7 separate regions of the Homo sapiens genome follow, and regions 1, 2, 3, 4, 5 and 6 are each linked to region 7. Evidence: promoter capture Hi-C in 16 types of primary human blood cells and fetal thymus (Javierre and others, 2016). All regions are on one chromosome and are shown on one strand. Each heading gives the region's core, a stretch centred on a gene start or on the middle of the fragment in contact. The rest is flanking DNA. Distances are from core to core; before and after follow the strand shown. Region 1 overlaps KRT76 (keratin 76). Region 2 holds the start of MIR9898 (microRNA 9898). Region 3 has its middle 9.9 kb from the start of KRT8. Region 4 holds the start of KRT3 (keratin 3). Region 5 has its middle 5.4 kb from the start of KRT4. Region 6 has its middle 6.4 kb from the start of KRT77. Region 7 holds the start of KRT75 (keratin 75).

Region 1 (3,351 bases), core at 609-3,108, 340 kb before region 7:
CGGAGCAGGCAGCTTTGGCAGTCGCAGCCTCTACAACCTGGGCAGCAACAAGAGCATCTCCATCAGCGTGGCAGCTGGCAGCTCCCGGGCTGGAGGCTTTGGGGGAGGGCGGAGCAGCTGTGGCTTTGCAGGTGGCTATGGAGGTGGCTTTGGGGGCAGCTATGGTGGTGGCTTTGGTGGTGGCAGAGGAGTAGGTAGTGGTTTTGGAGGGGCTGGTGGCTTTGGTGGAGCTGGTGGCTTTGGTGGTCCTGGTGTATTTGGTGGGCCTGGCAGCTTTGGTGGTCCTGGTGGCTTTGGCCCTGGGGGCTTTCCTGGGGGAATTCAGGAAGTGATTGTAAACCAGAGTCTCCTGCAGCCCCTCAATGTGGAGATCGACCCCCAGATTGGGCAAGTAAAGGCCCAGGAGCGGGAACAGATCAAGACCCTCAACAACAAGTTTGCCTCCTTCATCGACAAGGTGAGGGCAAGGCCAAGAGGTGCTGTGGAGGGTTTGGGGTGCCCAGGGGTCGGTGTAGAAAGATGCCATGGGGACTTGTGAGACACAGGGCAGGGGCGCTTGGCTCTTGTCCTGGTGCTGTCTTGGTCCCTACAGGACAGTGATCATGCCCCTTTCACTTTTTGGGCCTTCTTTTTCCAGCTGTGAAATGGGGGGAAGAATTCCTGGTCCTGGTTTCCTGCTAAGAATGAGATGAGGGTAAATGAAGTGGGGGTCCAAACATGCTCTTAGCTTTTTGAAGAATGAGCCATTTTAGTCATGAAATTATTGCAGTTACTTTAATTTCTCCTGAAAAGCAATTGCTTGATAATCCAAAGTAGCTGGTAATCAAAACCTTGTGTTAGCACAGATCTTGAGGCTGCATCTAAATGAGGTGCATTGGCAGCTGCCTTACCTTCCAGATGATGCTGTGCTTCAGCCAATAATTAAACTGAGCTGTCCATGCTGGGGCAGAGGAGGGTGTTCTGGGTCTGTGTGGGACTGAGCCCAGGATCTGAAGTGAATTCTAGTTCAGCTGCAAGCTGAATAACTGAAAGGAGGTCTTCCTATGTGAAACTTCTAAAGAAATGTTAGACCTCATTGACTGTATTCACTGCCTTTATGGAGCTGAAAAAAGCTTACATCTAAAAAACAATGACAAACTTTATTTGTGCTTACCTCCTTCAGTGGTATTCTGAAGGATCCCTATAGACCCAGGACAGTCCTGGGTTTGATTCTTAGCTTTGTCACTCAGTAGACTTGTCACTTTGGGAAACTTAAACTCTTTGAGTCTCAGTTTCCTTATCTACAAAATGGGGATCACAGCAACTCCTTTATAGGTGGTTGTGAGGATTAAATGTGACGGAAATACATGAAAATAACAGGTAAGGCATAATCACTCAACAAATTCTAGCTCTCCCTTTGCTAAATCTTCATCCTTCCCAAATTAAAAAACAGGGGAAATTGTAGATTGAAGAACTGGGTTCCTTCTCCACAGTTCTACATTTGGGATGGGCAGCCCCACATGCCCAACTCAAGGGGCTGACTCCTTTTCTCCCCTCTTTCATGCAGGTGCGGTTCCTGGAACAGCAGAACAAGGTCCTGGAGACCAAGTGGGAACTGCTCCAGCAGCAGACCACAGGCTCAGGGCCCAGCAGCCTGGAGCCTTGTTTTGAATCCTACATCAGCTTCCTATGCAAGCAGCTAGATTCACTTCTAGGGGAGAGGGGGAACCTGGAGGGAGAGCTGAAAAGCATGCAGGACCTGGTGGAAGACTTCAAAAAGAAGTGAGGGCTCCTCCTGGGAAGTTTCCCCTTCTGGGGAATTAGCAGGGAGGTGTGGTCCTAATTTGGGATTTCAACTGTTCCCAACTGTGCCTTCAGTCAATACTCTGGGATGGATTTATTGAGTGAAACATGACAAAGCAGAAGGGGGTGAAAGGGTGGGGACTGAGACTCCCATGTGGCTATGACACAGATTTCAGGCTCCAGATGGGCCCCCTCCTATTCCAGCCCAGAGGGACAAAAGAGTCCTCCCAGAGTTTAGAATCCTTTAGGATGGGGAGTCCGCCACACTTGACTGGACACAGGAATCACCTTGGATGCTTGTCAACAATGCGTATTCCTGTATTCCAGTCTTAGGTATTCTGAATCATAGGTGTGGACAGGCCCCAGGAGTGTGAGTGTTCCCCTAGCTCCTGGGGATTCTAGGCAGAGGTCCAGGGCTGCACTTGGTAAAGGCCTTTATCAGTGTGTCCCGTCCAATCTCCTGTTCTGCAGCTTTGGTTTGCCTCCTCCTCCACGTTCCAAGTTGCAGTCCATATCCGCTGAGGTCTGCAAGGAGCAAACTGGGCCTCTCAAGGTGGGAGGGAGCTCCCGACTTCCCCAGGGATCAGAACCCACAGGGACGGGCACACCTGCTCTGCAGAGGCCCTATTCCAATTCAACCACACAAACGTGGTGGGCACCCACTCTGTGGCAGGCTCTGTGCTGGGCTCTGGGAATTCAGTGGCAACTCAGATTCATATTCCCAAAAGAGATCCCAGAGACCTCTTTTCTCCTAGAGGAAAAAAAGAGGTCCTGCCTAGAGACCTCTTTTCTCCTAGAATCAGTCCAATTCCTCAAGCTTTATGAAATACAAACTCTTGGTAGTAGATTTTAGTCCTTAACAGGCAGGAATCCCACAACTTTGATGCATTCAGAAGGTATGAATTCTTTCTTAACTGAAATTCCTATAAGAAGTAACTGTAATGAAGGAAAACAGAAACTGAGGAAATAGGCAGAAATGCCCAATGAGAGCACACATTTCACTGGGTTCCATATGCACACATTGTGCTTTGCAAAGTCAATCAAAGAGCCTAGGCAAGTGGTCAGGCTCCTTGAAGTTTGCCCTCTCACTGACTGCCCATACCTCTGCCCATCACTGCATTTAGAGGGAAGAGGGCCAGGCAGTGCCCTGAGCTCTGAGAGGTCTCTGGACAGGACCAGCTACGTGATTTTCAGGCCTCAGTGCAAAATGATAATGCAGGAACCTAGTTACAAAATTATTAAGAATTTCAATCATGCCTGTAATCCCAGTACTTTGGGAGGCTGAGGAGGGAGAATCACTTGAGCCCAACAGTTCGAGACCAGCCTGGGCAACAAAGTGAGACCTTGTCTCTACTAAAAATTAAAAAATTGGCTGGACGTGGTGGTGCATGCCTCCAGTCCCAGCTATTTGGGAGTCTGAGGCAGGAGGATTGCTTGAGCCTGAGGGGTTGAGGCCACAGTGAGCCATGTTTGTGCCACTGCACTCCAGCCTAGGTGACAGGGTGAAACCTTGTCTCAGAAAAAAAAAAAAAAAAGAAAGAATGTCAATATGGTGCCAGCATTGAGCTA
Region 2 (3,326 bases), core at 751-3,250, 460 kb before region 7:
CAGAGCCTGGCTGGGAAGCACGGGGATGACCTGCGGCGCACAAAGACTGAGATCTCTGAGATGAACCGGAACATCAGCCGGCTCCAGGCTGAGATTGAGGGCCTCAAAGGCCAGGTATGGGCCGGGTTGGGGGTGGGAGGGGTTCCTTGGACACATCCTGGTGAGAGGAGATAATGTAGGAAGAGTGAAGTTTCTGGGAGTCGGGGAAGGAATCCTAGACCAGGGTTCAGGAGTTGGAGGGGCAGCCACAGTTCAGCTTCTCAGTCTGCTTCTGAGAAGCAAAGGGATGCAGGGAAGGTCCCTTGGGCCAGGACAGAGGTGAAAGGGGACTGGGGCAGGTATGTTGGGGCTCGTGATACATGCTCCCAAGCCTGCTTTAATCAGTCATATGCATCAGGGTAAGGTTGAGCTCTGCTGCTTTAAGGAAAGTCTAGAACCCAGGGATCTAGTCCAGTTAGGGTAGGGGGACCTTACAGTGTCGCAGGTGAGAAGGGTGTGGAGGGGAAGCACCTGGAAACTGCTCATGTCTCCCTGATCTGCTTCCTTAGTCTCGTTTATTTATTTATTTATTTTTGAGACAGAGTCTTGCTCTGTCGCCCAGGCTGGAGTGCAGTGGCGTGATCTCGGCTCACTGCAAGCTCCGCCTCCTGGGTTCACACTATTCTCCTGACTCAGCCTCCTGAGTAGCTGGGACTACAGGCGCCCGCCACCAGGCTGGCTAATTTTTTTTGTATTTTTACTAGAGACGGGGTTTCACTGTGTTAGCCAGGATGGCCTCGATCTCCTGACCTTGTGATCTGCCCGCCTCGGCCTCCCAAAGTGCTGGGATTACAGGCATGAGCCACTGTGCCCGGCCCTTAGTCTCATTTAATTTGAGCTGGGGGGAGTCAGCCTAGGTGGTGGTGGGGAGGACCCTGAGGGAGGGTGGGAGCACGGGAGAAGAGAAGGCATACCCAACCTGACCTACTTACCTGTCCCCTACCCCACAGAGGGCTTCCCTGGAGGCCGCCATTGCAGATGCCGAGCAGCGTGGAGAGCTGGCCATTAAGGATGCCAACGCCAAGTTGTCCGAGCTGGAGGCCGCCCTGCAGCGGGCCAAGCAGGACATGGCGCGGCAGCTGCGTGAGTACCAGGAGCTGATGAACGTCAAGCTGGCCCTGGACATCGAGATCGCCACCTACAGGAAGCTGCTGGAGGGCGAGGAGAGCCGGTGGGTGTGGGTACCTCTGACCGGACCTGCTTCCCTATCCCTGGGACCTGGGGTGGGGACGGTGGGAGCCCCCTGAAGCCCCTTGGGACTTGGGGTCCTGTTGTTCTGGGCCAAGAAGGGCTAGGAGTTGGTCCTGACACCCCATTTGTCTGGGTACAGGCTGGAGTCTGGGATGCAGAACATGAGTATTCATACGAAGACCACCAGCGGCTATGCAGGTGGGTGTCCCAGGGCCCTGGGATGAGGGCGGGAGGCAGGGCCCAGGGAGGCCTCAGCTCCAGGGAGGGGGCTGTGCTCAGTCGCTCACAGTGACCTCAGCCTGAGCACTCATGTTCTTGGGAGAATCCTAGGGTGGGGAGGCACATATTCAGGACCCCAGTAATAACTTTATTACTTAGTAACTTTACTATTAGAAAGCACCCAAATAAACCATAGCTGTGTGCCAGGCACTGTGCTAAGTATCCTACAGGTTTTATGTGATTTATTTTATTTATTAATTTAATTTAATTTTTTTGAGACGAAGTCTCGCTCTGTCACCCAAGCTGGAGTGCAGTGGCGTGATCTCAGCTCACTGTAACCTCCACCTCCTGGGTTCAAGAGATTCTCCTGCCTCAGGCCTCCCAAGTAGCTGGGACTACAGGCGCATACCACCATGCCCAGCTAATTTTTGTATTTTTAGTAGAGACGGGGTTTCACTGTGTTGGGCAGGCTGGTCTCGAACTCCTGACCTTGTGATCAGTGCTGGGATTACAGGCATGAGACACTGGGCCTGGCTGTAATTTATTTTTTATATGACACCTGTAAACGTCTTCAGTTGAGGAAGCTGAGGTGCAGCTAAATGTCCAAGGTCACACAGCTATATATATGGCAGCTGTTTTCCACCCTGCTCCTGGTTTTCCCTGACAGTTCTGGAGTAGTGAACCATGCAATCACTGATCAGGCAGAGCTGGGTTAACCTCCCATCCCTGGGGCTATGTTGGGAATGAGCAGGGAGAAGGGGCATGGAGCCTGCCATGGGGTGGGCTTCTGTACTCATGTGGCTACCTCTGTCCCTCACCAGGTGGTCTGAGCTCGGCCTATGGGGGCCTCACAAGCCCCGGCCTCAGCTACAGCCTGGGCTCCAGCTTTGGCTCTGGCGCGGGCTCCAGCTCCTTCAGCCGCACCAGCTCCTCCAGGGCCGTGGTTGTGAAGAAGATCGAGACACGTGATGGGAAGCTGGTGTCTGAGTCCTCTGACGTCCTGCCCAAGTGAACAGCTGCGGCAGCCCCTCCCAGCCTACCCCTCCTGCGCTGCCCCAGAGCCTGGGAAGGAGGCCGCTATGCAGGGTAGCACTGGGAACAGGAGACCCACCTGAGGCTCAGCCCTAGCCCTCAGCCCACCTGGGGAGTTTACTACCTGGGGACCCCCCTTGCCCATGCCTCCAGCTACAAAACAATTCAATTGCTTTTTTTTTTTGGTCCAAAATAAAACCTCAGCTAGCTCTGCCAATGTCCTTGCTTGTGTGTGCATCTGATGTCCACTGGGGTGGGAGGGAGGTGGTCAGGAGGCCTCTTCTTGGGACTGAGAAGCTGGGAGGGGTCCAGGAAGCAGGGGGTGCACAGCGGGAAAGTCTGACCCCCTCAGCTGTTCCTAAAGAGGCTCCTTTATTGAAACCTGGTTGAAACCTTGCTTGTTGCCATAGATATCTACACCTGTATAATAGTCATTGACCTGTGCACAGTGCTTTCTGGTTTACAGTGTGCTTTCAAATCCCAAGGTTCATGTGATCTGTGCAGCAAGGCTCAAGAGGCAGGCAGAGCAAGTTTTTGAGGGCATTATCAGCAGAGAGCTTAGTGTGCTTCCCCTACACCTTGGCATCAGGACTATCTGCATATAAGGAAAGCCAGGCTCAGAGAAGCCAAGTAGTTGGCTCATCTAGAAACTAGCAGATTTGGCATTGGAACCCAGAGCTGTCCAGCTCTCAGGCTTGTACTCCTCCTTGGCCAGGCACATGGCCTTTCCTTGTGGCCAGACATGTCTTTTTATCACCTTCAATCTTTGCAGTCAGGGACTAAGGCATCCTGGCTTTTCCATCCCCTCAGAGGTTCAGAGTCTATTCTCAGCCATTGGGTGTGTC
Region 3 (3,006 bases), core at 507-3,006, 480 kb before region 7:
CTGGAACAGAAGGTGCTAGGGTTCAGCAGGGAGCTGCTAGAAGTGCAGCTGAGTGACCTTGGACTCACGCCCATGCAGTCAACTGCCACCTCCTGTTGGTTCTAGCTTGAGTCCATCCCTATCTTCCTGCTCCTACCACACTGCAGGCCTCCAGACCTGCTTTCTGCAGTAGCCCCCTTTCTAGTCTCCTGCCCCTAGTTTTTGCCCCTACCATCTATCCTGAACACCCCAGCCAGCTTAATTTTCCTAAAGCACTGCTTTAAGCTCATCATCCTGCTCCTCCCTTCCTGCAGCCTGCAGAAAAAGCTCTGTCTGGCCTCTGAAACCCCTAGTCCCACCCTCCTCCCCAATATCTAGCTTTTCTACTCTTCCATAGGAATCCCGCTCCTGTCCAGTGGCTTATCACATTTCCAGATCTTTCCATCCATATCTTACTTTCCTAAGCTCAGCTTGATCTAAGGGCTCTCTCCTTCCCCTGAAGTCCTATAGCATACATCTGAATCATTTATTTATCTGAAATCAATATTCCGTTGATAAGGTACAGAAGGTAGACTTTGGCCAGGTAGTATTTGTATTTATAGAAGGGCTCGGTGTGTACACGGATATCTTTATACCTGGCTTCTCTGGTTCCACGTCTTTATTGGTGTACATTTTGGTTAGCATATGTAGTGAACATCTGTTGTTTCTGCCTGTCCAGCATTTGTTTATCTTTTCTTTTCTCTTCTTTTTTTTTTGAGACGGAGTCTTGCTCTGTTACCCAGGCTGGGCTGGAGTTCAGTGGTGGGATCTTGGCTCACTGCAGCCTCTGCCTCCTGGGTTCAAGCGATTCTCCTGTCTCAGCCTCCCAAGTAGCTGGGACTACAGGCATGCACCACCATGCTCGGCTGATTTTTTTGTATTTTTAGTACAGATGGGGTTTCACCATGTTGACCAGGCTGGTCTCGACCTCCTGACCTCAGGTGATCCACCCGCCTCAGCCTCCTGAAGTGCTAGGATTACAGGCGTGAGGCATGGTTCCTGGCCCTGTCCAGCATTTCTTCCTGGTCTTTTGGTGAATCACATTTTTTTTTTTTTTGAGATGGAGTCTTGCTCTGTTGCCCAAGCTGGAGTGCAGTGGCGAGATCTCGGCTCACTGCAGGCTCCGTCCCCTGGGGTTCACGCCATTCTCCTGCCTCAGCCTCCTGAGTAGCTGGGACTACAGGTGCCCGCCACCTCGCCCGGCTAATTTTTTGTATCTTTAGTAGAGACGGGGTTTCACTGTGTTAGCCAGGATGGTCTCGATCTCCTGACCTCATGATCCGCCCACCTCTGCCTCCCAAAGAGCTGGGATTACAGGCGTGAGCCACCGCGCCTGGCCCAAATCACATTTTTTTTCCCCTTTCTCTATAGGTTGGGTGGGGCTGATCACCCCTCCACAGGGTCTTGTTATGTGGTCTAGTCTAGTCAACATGATAGTATTCTATTCCCCTGGCCACAGGGATTGGTTCAGAGATGAGCATGTGACCTATATCAGCCTTGGAGAGTCAGCCCTGGAACTTCAGCAGGAAGCATCGGGAAAGAGGTGCTCCCTTAGTGGTCGCCCTTCCTGCAGCAGGGAGATGGCCTGCCCGAGGACGAAGCTAACATGGAGGAAAATAGCCAAAAGACAGGAAGAGAGTCTTGGTCCTGATGATATCACTGAGCCCCTTATCTGGCTAGGCTGAAAGCCAAATGCACCCTTGAACTTCTCAATTATAAGAAATGATCTTTTTATGCTTAAGTCTGTTTGAGTTGGGTTTCAGCCACTTGCAATCAAGAATGTGTATCCTTTGGCTGGGAGCTGGGGCTCACACCTGTAACTTTGGGAGTCACAGCACTTTGGGAGGCCAAGGTGGGAGGATTGCTTGAGGCAAGGATTTTTTGTTTGTTTTTGAGACGGAGTTTCACTGTTGTTGCCCAGGCTGGAGTGCAATGGTATGATCACAGCTCGCTGCAACCTCCACCTCCTGGCTTCGAGCAATTCTCCTGCCTCAGCCTCCTGAGTAGCTGGGGTTACAGGCATGCGCCACCATACTATGCTAATTTTTTGGTATTTTTAGTAAGGACAGTTTCTCCATGTTGGTCAGGCTGGTCTCGAACTCCCAACCTCAGGTGATCCGCCTGCCTCGGCCTCCCAAAGTGCTGGGATTACAGGCGTGAGCCACTGCACCCGGTGGATTTTTTTTTTGTTTTGTTTGTTTTATTTTTGAGACAGAGTCTCGCTCTGTCGCCCAGGCTGGAGTGCAATAGGGCAGTCTTGGCTCACTGCAATCTTTGCCTCCTGGGTTCAAGCGATTCTCCTGCCTCAGCCTCCCGAGTAGCTGGGATTACAGGTGCCTGCCACCATGCCCAGCTAATTTTTATATTATTAGTAGAGACGGGATTTCACCATGTTGGTCAGGCTGGTCTTGATCTCCTGACTTCAGGTAATCAGCTGGCCTTGGCCTCCTAAAGTGCTAGTATTAGAGAGGCATGAGCCACCTCTCTCAGCCTGAGGCCAGGATTTTGAGACCAGCCTGGGCAATATAGTGAAACCTCTGTCTGTATAAAAGAAAAAACAAACAAACCTGTAACCGTGTATTTGAGTTTGGATGTGTGTTATATATGGCTGTGTGTGCACAGGTATGTGTGTGACGTTCGTAGGAAGGTGGTGTGCACGGGACTCTGACGGGTGGTACACGCACATGCTTGTGCCTGAGATGAGGATGTGAGGTGGTACTGCACCTTGGCGTGTGCGTCAGGCCATGCAAGTGAGAGGGCAGGTGGGGTGTGTGTGAACCTGAGAGAGTGTGTGAGGGACAAGAGGGCGTGTGTGCTATAGGCTGAGGTTGTGTGCCCACAGGGTGGGGGGTGGGCCTGTGAGGCTGTTTGTTCTGGGAGATAACCCATCAAACATGTGTGCTTTGTATTTATATGGATACATGCATATAAAGACACGTGCTCAAAAACACCTGCTTATCATCATGCACCTCTGCCCTCCTGAAAATT
Region 4 (3,400 bases), core at 846-3,345, 360 kb before region 7:
ATTTAAATAGCTTTGGTCATGCTTAGTCATGGGGAGGATCTGGTCTAGCCCTGGGTTTGGTTCATTGCCTTTGAGGGAGCAAAGAGGAGAGGAGCCTGTGTGGCCACACTCTAGGCCTGGGCTAACTTCACAGTCCATGGGCAGAACTTGCAGAAAATTAGGGATATAAGTCAGAGATGCTGGAGAGGGGATCCCAGCAATGAACGGGGCAGATTGTGTGACCTCAAATGTCCAGTCAACTTCAACTTGATTCTGTAATTGATTGATTCTTGATTGATTAGTTCTTGATTCTGTGATTCTACATTTTTTTCCCCTGAGGAGGTGACACTCATTTTGCATGTAAATTTTTCTAAATCTGAACACCAAATTTGAGAAGTCTGGATTCCTCACATTGAAATAATCTCAATTAGCTTGTGCTACCTCATGCAATGGGAGTTGAACTAGCTTTCAACCAGTTTTATCTGGTTGTAATCCAGTATAAGGGCTTAACCATTAGTCATTAATAATTAATTGATGGACTAATTCATTTTTTCAACAAACCAAACTTTATGGCACTTACTATTGGCAAAGCACTGTGCTTTGGTTCAAGGCACCCAGTATATTAACAAGACTGGAAACTCCTGGAGAGCTTATGGTTTTATCCTGGGGAGGAGCTAGGATGTTGCACAGCCTGGCAGGTAACACATGGGAGAGATAAGGATAAAATGGAAGAACCAGGCCACTGAAGAAAATTGTACTTCCTTTGCACTTGGGCCACTCCCAGCCCTACCCAGTGGGTGTTGAAGAAGTCTCTATCCTTTCCCCCAATTCTAAGGAGGCTCCTGCCAGGGCCATACAGACCACACCCTTAGAAGGGCCCAATGTGCAGCAGACAGAACAAAAAAGGCCTGTCCTGGAGAGATAAGCAGCTAACTTGGCCAGCTCCAGAGTGTGCAGGATGGCTTTCTTTTGGACAAACCAAGCCCAGTCATAAGCCTCTGAACAACCCCAGACAGGGAGAGTTTCAGGCTTTCGGAGTCAGACATATTCCATAGTGCTGCCGGCTCTGCCAGATCTGGCTTTCTGGGGTTTGTGAGGGGGCATGGGCGACTCTCAGGAGCACATCTCTCAAACAGAAAATGGTCCCACAGGGGCCCTGTGTGTCTTGTCCATGACTGGGTCTCCAGAGTTTTGCAAAGGGCCTGGCACACATTTGGCAGTCTGTAAATATTTGCTGAATTTGTTGTTGACTTGACATTTGAATTTCTTGTTCCCTAGGCCTTAAGCTAAAACCAGAGAAAGGCCAAAATGTGGGGAGCAAGAAAGGAAGCCATAGATAAACCCCAAGATGTGTAATAGTGTATAATTTCTCTGGGAAGTTTTAAAGAGAAACAAACATTAGGCATGTTGGATTTTGCCAGTGTCTGCTCAACATACATAGGTGTTAACTTGACTTTTTCTCCAAAGATAGTCATAAACCAAAAGGTCACTACCTCCTGAACTAAAGCTTGGGGTACAGGGAGAACCCAGGAGGCAGATTTGTGATAGTTCTGGGCTTTTTTCCAAGAAGGGAGAAGGAGAGGTCAGCGCTTCATCCCAAAGGCCAGCGTAGAGCTGGGCACATACTGTGCACTCAGTCATTGTGGAGAGACCTGCATCACTCCTTCCATTAAGATACTTTCCCAGAGCTGTGAGTGGGCTCCACTGTCTCCACTACTCAGAGAAGCAGAACCTCCCCACACCTCCTCCACTCTATCCTCTCCAGAGCTGGGCACCGCTCTGCAGGGCCCAGGTGCAGCTAATAGGCAGAGGGATGGCTGCTGAGCACCTGATGCAGGTGAGCGTGCCTCCTGGGTCCTGTCAGACAGAGCTAGGAGGAGGCCATGCCCAAACATGGGGCAACACCAGGCACCACCCCCTCACCAGGTAAGCCTGCCACCTTAGCACTTTTACCATTTCAGCTTATTTTCAAGGTGTGTTTGGTAGCCTGGAACAAACTTATTGCCTTGGAGGCAAACCCAGCCCATGAATATTTGGGATTAATTATCTCTCCTTCGTTTGAGCCCAACAACCTCCTCAAATGTATATAAAGGGATTTATTTTGCACAGGTCTTCATTTCCCATCCCTCTTCCTCTGACTCTCAGTGTCCCTGCTTAACTTACACTCTTCTCTTCGCCAAGCTCCTTACCATGAGCAGACAAGCCAGCAAGACATCTGGTGGCGGGAGCCAGGGTTTCTCCGGCCGCTCTGCTGTGGTCTCCGGCAGCAGCAGGATGAGCTGTGTGGCCCACTCTGGGGGAGCTGGCGGAGGGGCCTATGGCTTCCGGAGCGGAGCAGGTGGCTTTGGCAGTCGCAGCCTCTACAACCTGGGCGGCAACAAGAGCATCTCCATCAGCGTGGCAGCTGGCGGCTCCCGGGCTGGAGGCTTTGGGGGAGGGCGGAGCAGCTGTGCCTTTGCAGGTGGCTATGGAGGTGGCTTTGGGAGCGGCTATGGAGGTGGCTTTGGTGGTGGCTTTGGTGGTGGCAGAGGAATGGGAGGTGGCTTTGGTGGAGCTGGTGGCTTTGGAGGGGCTGGTGGCTTTGGAGGGGCTGGTGGCTTTGGTGGTCCTGGTGGCTTTGGTGGGTCTGGTGGCTTTGGTGGGCCTGGCAGCTTGGGCAGTCCTGGTGGCTTTGGCCCTGGGGGCTTTCCTGGGGGAATTCAGGAAGTGACTATCAACCAGAGTCTCCTGCAGCCCCTCAATGTGGAGATCGACCCCCAGATTGGGCAAGTAAAGGCCCAGGAGCGGGAACAGATCAAGACCCTCAACAACAAGTTTGCCTCCTTCATTGACAAGGTAATGAAGCTTTGACTGGTCATCCCTTCCTGGGCTGGGGACTTTGAATTTGACCTTTGGGACACAGTGTTTAAATGTTTCTTGGATAGGCCAGACTGGAGGGTGAGGAGTTAGGTGGAACTCTAGGGTCTGGGAAGATATCCAGGGTTGAGGAGTTTGTCTACATGGTCAAGTGAGGGGAGGTGTAGAAAGAAAACAGTCCCCTATTTGGACCTGAGCACCACACATCCTGTTTGTGGGAACCCCTGCTGAAGTTTCCAGTCATTGCCTCATTGAGGCCCAGGCTGGCAGGGCAGGCAGCCCAAGGCAAGGGCCACAGCCACCATCAGCGAAGGGTCCACCAAGAATGGGAGGCTTTTCAAATACAAGCTGCCCTCTGAGGCTTTCCAGGAAGCCCTTTCCCCCTCATATTGCTGTGCCAGGCAGAGGAGGCTGATTACCTGGAGCAGGGATTAAGAGCATAAGAACCTTAGTTAGTCCCAAGGGAGCGCAGAGAAATGAGTGACTTTGCACTCCTACTCAGCCTAGTCAGGAAGACAAGAGTGCTCGGTGAGCTTCTCCAGACCAGGACAGTTCTCATGGGGCT
Region 5 (2,918 bases), core at 353-2,852, 390 kb before region 7:
AAGCATCTGGCTTATAGAGGCCCTTTCAGGAATCAGGTTTCTTTGCTTTCCCACTCCCTGACTTCTGGATTCCCAGCTTATCCTCTTGGCCTCAGTGATGTCTCTCTCAGCCCCCACATCCAGTCGGCAAGAAAAATCCACACTTAATTGGGTTTTGTGGTTTACACATACATTACTTTGCCTGTGACCATCACCACAGCCCTAGGTTCAGTAGTGGGCATGTGGTGTTCCAGTTTACAGGTGAGGCGATTCACGCTCACAGAAGTGACCTCTCATGCTGTAGTCATCCAGCTGGCTGGAGGTGGGTCAGTAGTGTCCAGGGCTGCAATTTCAAGCCCTCTGTCCTGTCACCCCAGAAGCTACCTCCGTCCTACTCCTGCCTCCATCACTCGCCAAATCTTACTGCTCCTCCCTCCATGCGTCTCTTGGTATCACCTTCTTTCCTCTTCATCTCCACAGTTCTCTACTTTGAGTCTGGACCCCACTCCTCAAGCTGTACCCAAGTGATTCCCCAATTGGCTGGCCTCTCAACCCTGCACCTCTCAGGCCCTCCCCACCCTGCTACCAAACCAGTTGGCCCGACCCGAGGCTGTCACCACTCCGCTCCCTTCCTTGGCAACCTTAGGGCTCCTGGCAGTTGCTGGGATGCATCCCACACTCTTCCGGCCTGATCACTCTGTCCTCCTCAGAGGAGCCCCGAAGAGCCCTGAGAAAGCTTCCTCCAGGGCTGTGGAAGGCCAGCAGAGGGATTTTCAGCCAAACCCTAACCTCCAGCTTAGGAACACAAAGGCCTAGCGGTTTAGGGTCAGCTCTGCCTCACCAGCTTGGGTGGTCTCTAGCTTCCCTTCTCAGACAGATGGAGTATAGTCCACCCCATGTACAACACTTTGAGGAATACTTGCTAATGCTCACTGAGTGCCAACTGTGTGCCAGAACTGCTGTCAAGCCTTTAACTGATTCTCTTCACAACAGCCTATAATATAAATACTATTATCATTCTAATTTTGCCTATAAGGAAAATAAGGCACAGAGTGGTTAAGTAACTTGCCTAAGGTCACACAGCTAGGAAGTAGCAGAGCTAGGTGTGGAATCCAAGCAATCTGGTTCCATAGCCCAAGCTCTTAAGCACCAGGTTATTTTGCTTATATAGAAAAAGGAATGGAGACCTGGGGATGCTGGAGCTAGAAGGGGCATTGGATGTAATCGACTCCAAACTTTTTATTTCATAGATAAGAAAACAGGTTGAGGAAGGGGAAGAATGTATCCAAAGCCACGGTAACTTAGTGGCAGTGTTAAAAAAAAAATCAGTTTTAGTGAGATCATAGGCCAGGTGTTGTGGCTCCTGCCTGTAATTCCAGCACTTTGGGAGGCTGAGGCAGGTGGATCACTTGAGCCCAGGAGTTCAAGACAAGCCTGGCAACATGGTGAGACTCTGCCTCTACAAAAAAATACAAAAATTAGCTGGGTTTGATAATGCATACCTGTAGTCCCAGCTACTTGGGAGGCTGAGGTGGGAGGATCACTTGAGGCTGTTGAGGCTGCGGTGAGCTGTGATTGCACCATTGCACTCCAGCCTGGGTGACAGAGGGAGACCCTGTCTCAAAAAAATTATATTTAGGGCTCAAAAACTGAACAATAGAAACTTTTGATTGTCATGGAAAAAAGCCTCAGAGATTATACTGCAGCCCAGGGGGGCCCACCAACAATAATGCGCTGCTTAGACATACTTGTCGAAGGAGGGGAATGGCCCAGACCCAGGGGTTTCCAAACTGAGGACCCTAAGGGCTGCTTTCAGGGGTGCAGGGGGAGGTCAGCAGGTGAGAAGGATCATGGTCCCTCCTCTGCACCAACTGGATCATCTCTCCTTATCTGTTTTACTCATGAGGCTGTGCACGTGATTTTGTTTATGAGGGTGCTTTTGCTGCCAGAACATGCTGGGAAGCCCCTGCCTGTATATGCCTGGGGTAGGAGGCCAGCAGGGGCAGCTCTCCGGCCCGGGGAAAGAGGAGCCCCTGGGTACAGACCCCCATACCTGGCTCTCAGGAGTGCCCGTCCTCTCATTGCCCTCACTGGCCTCTCCCTAAAACGCTGATGGCCCTTTTCTGCAGAATCTCTGATCCCCGTGTTGTCTCTGGTTCCCCAAGAATGACTCAGGCCCGGTGGGGCAGTTGAGGTTGGGTGACCGAATGGAGTGAGGGTGCCCGCCTGGCCAGGGAGGGCAGGAGCACTTTCCCACACCACACAGTGGGTTTGGAGATGAGAGTGACAGAAGCCCTCAGGATCCCTTAATCCCAGGGCTGAATGTAAGGGCTTGCCTCCCTTACCCAGAAAGCCCTGAGCAAACACTCCCTCCGCCTGGCTCCACACCCCTGTCGGCTGCTCATCCCTCTGTGAAAAGATTGGGAACAGCTGCCAAACAAGGAAGGGTCACCGAGGGCAGTAGCAGAATCTGCGTGTGGAGGTCTGGGGAGGGGCAGGGGACAAGCTTCCAGCTGTGGCTGCTGGGTAGTGGCGCCTTGTTCAGCCACCTGCCTCTGGCCCACATATGAAGGCAATGTCTTTCCCCGTTTTCAGGGAAAGAAACTCATCTCTCTTTCTCTCTCACTCTAGGGTGTAAAGGCGCTCTTGCATAGGAAGTTCTTCCTTAGGTCTACCTTCGGTTTCTCAGGCTCAGTTTGAAGATTTTGTGAGCTTCTTGCAATTCTGATTTAATAATAAGGACACAGAATGTGGCTCTAGACTAGAACTTTCTTCTTGTTTGGATTGGGTTTATGGTAGGGTTTGTCATGAAATTAATTTGGATTTAGTTAATTGGAGGATACAAAACTGGCCCCTCAGGACAGTGTCATACCTTATTGGGTACTTGTAAGGACAGGGCCACATCAACCAAGCAACTGACCATGTGCTGAGGGTAAGGA
Region 6 (3,073 bases), core at 325-2,824, 280 kb before region 7:
CAAAATTTCAGTTATTATGAAATTTTCTCTATGGTGAACAAATTCTCTAAATGAACAAGAAAAAGCAAACCCACATGTGCCTCCTAAGCAGTGAATGCAGCTTGGAGAGATTGCCCTTTAGCTTAATGACAGAGGAGATACTTTTGGCTTGTTTCAAACTCATCAATAAATTGCCATCTTCCTTTAAATAGATGATTAAAGAAAAGCTTGTCTGCATCTTTTATATGATTTACAATATATTACAGGGCCACAGTTTCCTGCTTATGGTGACTTTCTAATTTAAGGGAAGCTGGATGGAAAATGCAGTTTGGTTAATAGAAATTTACTTTTGTAATAATGTAATAATTGCTAAAGTAGATGATCTCTTGTTATTTGCCTGACATGTGCTGAGCTTTTTCTGAATTAACCCATCTAATCTTCACAGCCCTGTGAGGTAGGCAGTGTTATGGCCTCTGCTTCACAAAAGAGGAAATGAAAGCGCAGAGAGATGAATGAACTTATCCAAGGTCATGTAACTAGAAGGGATGGCACCAGGATTCAAACTCCAGAAGGCCTAACCTCAAAGCCCTCCTAAATTGCCCCATAAAGCAGAAGATAAGATAGTACAGCAAGAAACTCTCAGGCTTTGGAACCCAGCTGCTAGGTGTAATCTGGGCCCACTCCTTACCAGGAGTGTGTGACCTTGAGCCACCCTCCAGACCCCTCACCCAAAAGTCATCAGTAAAATGCAGTTGTGTGGATGGAATCATGTCATCTGTTTAATTCTTGGCACATTGTAAGAGCTCAATAAAAGGTCATTACTAATTATGGCCAGTGTTTCAGGAACCTGTCTATTCTTTAAATGAAGAGAATAATACACTGCAAATTCCTTATGGTTATAAAGCACTGTAATCTCTCCCATCATGGTCAAGTGAGACACGAACCTGGAATTGATGGCAGGTCTCATATTACCCTCAGGGACTTGGAATGCTGGTCCCACCCCACCACTAACTACCCCTGTAACCTTGAGACTGGCCCGTCCTCTTTGATCCAACATATAGAAGCATTCTCTGCCCAGACAGCACCATTCCTCCGCTGGGACCTCACTGTTTCTTTTGGAATTCAATCCAAGTCTAACCTGTAGCCTTATTTTCCTTTGGGGCCACACCTGCCTAGCTGCTCCCTTTGCTTCAGAGACAAAAGAGTTGCCAGGCTGAGGCACAAGAATCACTTGAACCCGGGAGGTGGAGGTTGCAGTGAGCATTTCAGCCTGGGTGAATTATAAACAAATAAATGGTTGTATAAATAAATAAATAAATGATTGTATAAATAGTCATGACTTCCAGTATGTTGGATGGAAGAGCTTTGACACGCTTGGCACAATATTGTCTCTGGACCTTTGCCGTGGGAATTTGCAAGCTGCCCTTAGTGAGGCCTCTAGACAATATCCAGGCCCAAAAGCACCTATTGGGTTTGCCGAGAAGGAAGGAGACTGCCCGATTCTTATGCTCTAGGCAGACACTGAGATTCTAGTTAAAGGGATGTCAAAGTGGTGTCCAGGCTAGTTTTGGGCCTCAGTAGGAGCTTAAGGCCCTAGGTGTTGCCCCAAACACACACCCCAACCCAGAAATCAGAGGATTCACCAGGGATGTTCCTGTGTGCCTGGCACCACCTTCTCATGCCTGCGTGCAGGCTTGTTAGAGATTGAAGGTGGAACGCCCCATATAGTCATCTCTCCCAGGCTGCAGGAGCACAGAGGCACCTGGGAATTTCACATAGGCCTCCTTATTCTTTCTGAATTCGGGGGAGGGTAGCCAAGTTCTCATTCTATCTGCACCACCAACTTTTTTGGGTAACTTTGGCCAAGTCCCTGTCTTTGTACCCATTTCTTCCTTGTAAAATGAAGGACTGGGCTGATACCGTCCATCATATGTTTGGCTGTGATGCTGTTACGCAGGAAGAAGAGTGGGCCAAGGGTGGGGAAGCCAAGTCTAGCAGCTTCTATTCAGCTCCAATAGGTTTCTCTCCGATATGTGTCACATCACTGCCTCCCCTGTGCTGACGACAGGTCAAAAGGCTCTCATTTCAAGGAGGTTAAAGGCCCCCATTCCTAGACCGGGGCTGCAGCTCTCCACTCTCTTCTTGGTGGGGACTGGTGAGTGAGAGTCTCTCTCCCTTCCTTTTTCCAGCCCCACGCCCCTGACACACCTCTGTGATATCCACCTCCAGACCCTGGGAAATGTAGGGTGAGGTGGGGGATAGAGCTTTGGGAGCTGCTCCTGCTGGTCATGCCAGCAGCTCTTCTGAACCCTGCTTCCCGCTGCTGTCTGGAACTGTGATCCAGGTGGCTGATAGTTGCTCTGGGCCTCACCTTCTTGGCAGCCCTGGGTTTCAGTAACTGGGAGATGGGCTGGGTGAGCTGCAGCCTTCAACTAACTTCCCACTTTCCTTTTAAGGTGGCAGGTGGGGAGAGGAGGAAGCGGGCACATCTCTCTCCAACGACCCCATCTCTTCTGCAATACATGTAGGTTCTGAAGTGGGAATGCGCGGGTTCAAATCTCCATTCCACTATTTTCATTAGTGTATTCTTTGACAAGATTCTCTTTCCAAGTCTCACTTTCTCCATTTGCAAAATGAACATAGTAAGAATATCTTCCTTATGATGTTGGTATTTAGATTTCACGAGACCTTCCATGTTATAGACAGCACAGTGCATGGTCCATGGAAATCACCTGGTGAAGTTCACTATTATGATAATGATTGTTACTCCTATCTGTGTCCTTAGACTGAATGGAATCTAAAGAGGCTGTTTCATTTGTCCTGTTTCCTCCAGGTCAGTGGTCTCCAAACTTGCTGCACATTAAAACCACCTTTTAAAAATTCTAAAGTCCAGACCATAGCCCCAGACCAATTAAACTCTACTCCTTAGGTGTGGGCCCAGGCACCAGCGATTTTGAAGCTTTCTAGGTGATTCCAGTGTGAGCCAGTTTAGAAACCGCTGCTCTCTGCAGTCTAACCAGCTGAGGAGTTTCTTTTAGGGGTAGTGATTCGTCCTAGGAACATTATTTACCCACTAATATTGATCTGAGTTGAA
Region 7 (3,351 bases), core at 775-3,274:
TGTATCAACACAAGCTATGATTCATATCTTTCCTGTGGAAACTGAGACTCCCAAATAATCTCTAGATGGGGGAGAGGCTTACCCCCGGGCCTCAGTCCCAAGGAGGAAACAGTTTAGAGAACAAAGAACTACCGCTCCAAGTGCCAAGCTGCCATTCCAGGCAGGTGAGAACATCTGCCAAATGGTCGGTTACCAGTGTGCCCCTAAAAGGACACCTGTGTGGAAAGACCATGGAATCTGGCTCTGCTTCTTGTGGGTCTGTCTGACTAGTTAACCATTCTGGGCTCAATGCCCTCATCCACGAAATGGAGACTGAATGCTGATTAATTCCTCTCTTACTCTCCCAGGCTTCAAAACCACAGCAAGAAGAAAGCAGGCAGCAAGATAAAAGAAGATTCAGGCCAGGCGCGGTGGCTTAAGCCCGTAATCTCAGTACTTTGGGAGGCCAAAGAGGATGGATGACTTGAGCTCAAGAGTTCAAGACTAGCCTGAGCAAAATGTCGACACCCAGTTTTTACAAAATAGTAAAAAAATTAGAGAGGCATGGTGGAGCATGCCTGTAGTCCCAGCTACTCAGGAAGCTGAGGTGGGATGATCACCTGAGCCCAGGAGGTGGCGGTTGCAGTGAGCCGAGATTGAGCTGCTGCACTCCAGCCTGGGTGACAGAGTGAGACCCTGTCTCAAGGCAGAAAAAAAAAGAAGATTCAGCAATGTTTTGGTTTGACTCTTCCCATGGTAGAGATGGGGCAATGAGTTGCAGAACAGAGAGATGAGGTGCCTTGAAGTCTTCTTTGCGGTTTGTAGACTAATATAGAATGTAGGGCACAGTCTACAAGGTTAACAGGAGAAACAGGGAAGGAACGAATCCTCTGCTAGGTGCAGCTGTTGGAGCTCTTTTGATGAAGGACTGGAGAGCTAGGAATTCTTGGTCCTCAGGAGGAGGAGGAAACTGCCTGGGAGACTTCTGGGATAGGCAGCCTCAAATGCAGCTTGGAGGTGATGATTCATGGTACACCATCTTGTACAGTTTTATCTTCCCAACAGGACCATGAGCTTGTTGAAGATAAATAATGTGCATTGTGTTTCTTTTGAATTCCCACAGGACTAGTCACAGGATGGACATGGTTGGCACTTCCTTAATATTACTTGATTGTATCAGAAAGAGGGGAGCCTCAATAGACATTTACTCAGCACTTACATATACCGGGCATTGCGAAAGTTTTCACATGTGAATATTCATTACAAACCCCATTTTACAGACATGAAAGTTGAGGCACAGAAAAGTTTCATGGCTTGCTCAAGGTCCCACAACTATGAGCAGGTCTGAGATTCAAACCCGAGTCTTTCTCCTCTCACAACCTCTCTTCCCAGGAGACAGAGCACTGGCTGGCCTTGAGAGTCACATTATATTGCAGTGGGCAGGGCACAGGCACACATACACTCCAGAAAACCATGTGTGACCTACACAATAGACACGGAAGCTTAAGAGCAGAATAAAGGGGCAATCAAAATGGGGTGGATTCCTAAGGAAGATGATTACAGAGCGCGACCTTCAAGGTTTGGAAAGACAGCTTGATGGGGCTTGGGGAACCAGGCAGTAGGTGCTGAGAAAATGCTTAGGGAATAGGAAGCACCCCAAGGAAACAGTGAAGTGTAGTGGCTTGTATTAACACAAGATGTTTGGACAGGACGGAGTTGGTCCCAGGCCTAAGAAAGCGGTTTAGAAATGAGGCAGTGTTTGCTGAGTCCTTTACAAGATGCATCATTAGCACATGACGGAAAGCAATTAACTTGCTTCTTACTCATATGCTGATCAAGTTGCAACTGGAAAGGAGTTTGCACGTTGTGGGGAGGGGGTGCCAGGGAACCAGCCAGTGGCCCTTACACCATTTCCCGAGGGATGCCGAGTGTGAGCTCAGGGTTGGCGGATGCCCAGGGAATGCCATCAGAAGGCCCTCTCCACTAGCAGTGCCCCGCCCCCACAGGATGCTCATAAAAGCCACGAGACCAGGGCTCTCCAGCCACCTGTCTTCTCCACTGCCTGTACCAGCCCACCTCAGGTGCCTTCTCGCCGGCCTTCCTCACCCACCATGTCTCGGCAGTCCTCCATCACCTTCCAGTCTGGCAGCCGCAGGGGCTTCAGCACCACCTCGGCCATCACCCCGGCAGCTGGCCGCTCCCGCTTCAGCTCTGTCTCTGTGGCCCGCTCTGCAGCAGGGAGTGGGGGCCTGGGAAGGATCAGCAGTGCTGGGGCCAGCTTTGGAAGCCGCAGCCTCTACAACCTGGGGGGTGCCAAGCGGGTCTCCATCAATGGGTGTGGCAGCAGCTGCCGAAGTGGCTTTGGTGGCAGGGCCAGCAACAGGTTTGGAGTCAACAGTGGATTTGGCTATGGGGGTGGAGTTGGAGGAGGCTTCAGTGGCCCCAGCTTCCCCGTGTGTCCCCCTGGAGGCATCCAAGAGGTCACTGTCAACCAGAGTCTCCTGACTCCTCTTCACCTGCAAATCGACCCCACCATCCAGCGGGTGCGGGCCGAGGAGCGCGAGCAGATCAAGACCCTCAACAATAAGTTCGCCTCCTTCATCGACAAGGTAAGCAGGGGCTTCATCCACCCCCTTGGGTTTGGGATCAAATAAACTCTTGGAAGGGCCATCCCATGGGGGGAGAGCAATAATGCAATGACCCCACTGTGGGAATGAGCACTGTTCAGCACGGGCTCCCAGGGGCTGAGACCCTTCCAAGTCAGGCCAGCTTGCCCCACAGGACCTGGTAGAAATTTCCTCTCTTTCGGAGCCACATGGGCTGGTTCAGTCAACACCAAGGGAAGAGTTTTGTTGATTCTCTACAGGAGAGTTGCTGCTCAGCAAACTACCCTAACCCAGAGTAGGTGGTGTTGAGAAACTTAACCCAAGAGCAGCTCCCCAACAGAAGCCTCTAGGCCCCACCACCCGAATCCTATGCAAGCCCTAGGGAACTTTGCGGTAGCTCCATGGACTGCCTCCTTTTGGGTTGGAGTTGTCAGTTACATTATTGTCAATGGGTGCCAAGTGAAAAAAATATCTTTTTCTTCTCTCCCTTATTAATAGGAGTGTCTAACTCTGCCTCTCCAACTTCTCAAGGTTTCATTCTCTCTTCTTCCCTCCAGGTGAGGTTCTTGGAGCAGCAGAACAAGGTCCTGGAGACCAAGTGGGCCCTCCTGCAGGAGCAGGGCTCCAGGACTGTGAGGCAGAACCTAGAGCCCCTCTTTGATTCCTATACCAGTGAGCTCCGACGGCAGCTGGAAAGCATCACCACCGAGAGGGGCAGGCTTGAAGCTGAACTGAGGAACATGCAGGATGTTGTGGAAGATTTCAA

The links. Contacts are between HindIII fragments. The CHiCAGO score rates a contact against its expected background, and 5 or more counts as called.
Region 1: a contact is called between a fragment that was not itself captured here and the fragment with the promoter of KRT75 in region 7, in 1 of 17 cell types (endothelial precursors). The highest score is 7.5, in endothelial precursors.
Region 2: a contact is called between a fragment that was not itself captured here and the fragment with the promoter of KRT75 in region 7, in 4 of 17 cell types (M0 macrophages, erythroblasts, M2 macrophages and 1 more). The highest score is 7.8, in M0 macrophages.
Region 3: a fragment that was not itself captured here is called in contact with the fragment with the promoter of KRT75 in region 7 in 5 of 17 cell types (M2 macrophages, M0 macrophages, erythroblasts and 2 more); the score reaches 6.7 in M2 macrophages.
Region 4: a contact is called between the fragment with the promoter of KRT3 here and the fragment with the promoter of KRT75 in region 7, in 2 of 17 cell types (endothelial precursors and total CD8 T cells). The highest score is 5.5, in endothelial precursors.
Region 5: a fragment that was not itself captured here is called in contact with the fragment with the promoter of KRT75 in region 7 in 2 of 17 cell types (endothelial precursors and naive B cells); the score reaches 6.8 in endothelial precursors.
Region 6: a contact is called between a fragment that was not itself captured here and the fragment with the promoter of KRT75 in region 7, in 1 of 17 cell types (endothelial precursors). The highest score is 5.3, in endothelial precursors.

The regions. Positions count from the first base shown.
Region 1 is chr12:52,773,798-52,777,148 of GRCh38, reverse strand. It overlaps KRT76 (keratin 76), which reads left to right. Exons shown (of 9, transcript NM_015848.4): 1 at 1-457; 2 at 1,547-1,761. Among named protein-coding and RNA genes, the nearest start is that of KRT76, 1.9 kb to the left of the region's middle. The HindIII fragment of the contact is 1,487 bases long and covers 1,115-2,601 here.
Region 2 is chr12:52,896,563-52,899,888 of GRCh38, reverse strand. It overlaps KRT8 (keratin 8), which reads left to right. Exons shown (of 8, transcript NM_002273.4): 5 at 1-114; 6 at 990-1,210; 7 at 1,370-1,428; 8 at 2,271-2,698. The coding sequence ends at 2,461. It overlaps MIR9898 (microRNA 9898), which reads left to right and starts at 905; the gene lies at 905-1,000. RefSeq lists an enhancer at 475-974. The HindIII fragment of the contact is 5,560 bases long and covers 1-3,326 here.
Region 3 is chr12:52,913,443-52,916,448 of GRCh38, reverse strand. It overlaps a transcript of KRT8 not described here. Among named protein-coding and RNA genes, the nearest start is that of KRT8, 9.9 kb to the right of the region's middle. The HindIII fragment of the contact is 8,808 bases long and covers 1-3,006 here.
Region 4 is chr12:52,794,812-52,798,211 of GRCh38, reverse strand. KRT3 (keratin 3) reads left to right here and starts at 2,095. Exons shown (of 9, transcript NM_057088.3): 1 at 2,095-2,814. The coding sequence starts at 2,170. The HindIII fragment of the contact is 1,337 bases long and covers 1,489-2,825 here.
Region 5 is chr12:52,818,063-52,820,980 of GRCh38, reverse strand. No RefSeq gene overlaps it. Among named protein-coding and RNA genes, the nearest start is that of KRT4, 5.4 kb to the right of the region's middle. RefSeq lists an enhancer at 2,261-2,762. The HindIII fragment of the contact is 1,770 bases long and covers 718-2,487 here.
Region 6 is chr12:52,708,369-52,711,441 of GRCh38, reverse strand. No RefSeq gene overlaps it. Among named protein-coding and RNA genes, the nearest start is that of KRT77, 6.4 kb to the right of the region's middle. The HindIII fragment of the contact is 2,732 bases long and covers 209-2,940 here.
Region 7 is chr12:52,433,044-52,436,394 of GRCh38, reverse strand. It overlaps KRT75 (keratin 75), which reads left to right and starts at 2,024. Exons shown (of 9, transcript NM_004693.3): 1 at 2,024-2,588; 2 at 3,143-3,351. The coding sequence starts at 2,091. The HindIII fragment of the contact is 2,406 bases long and covers 1,484-3,351 here.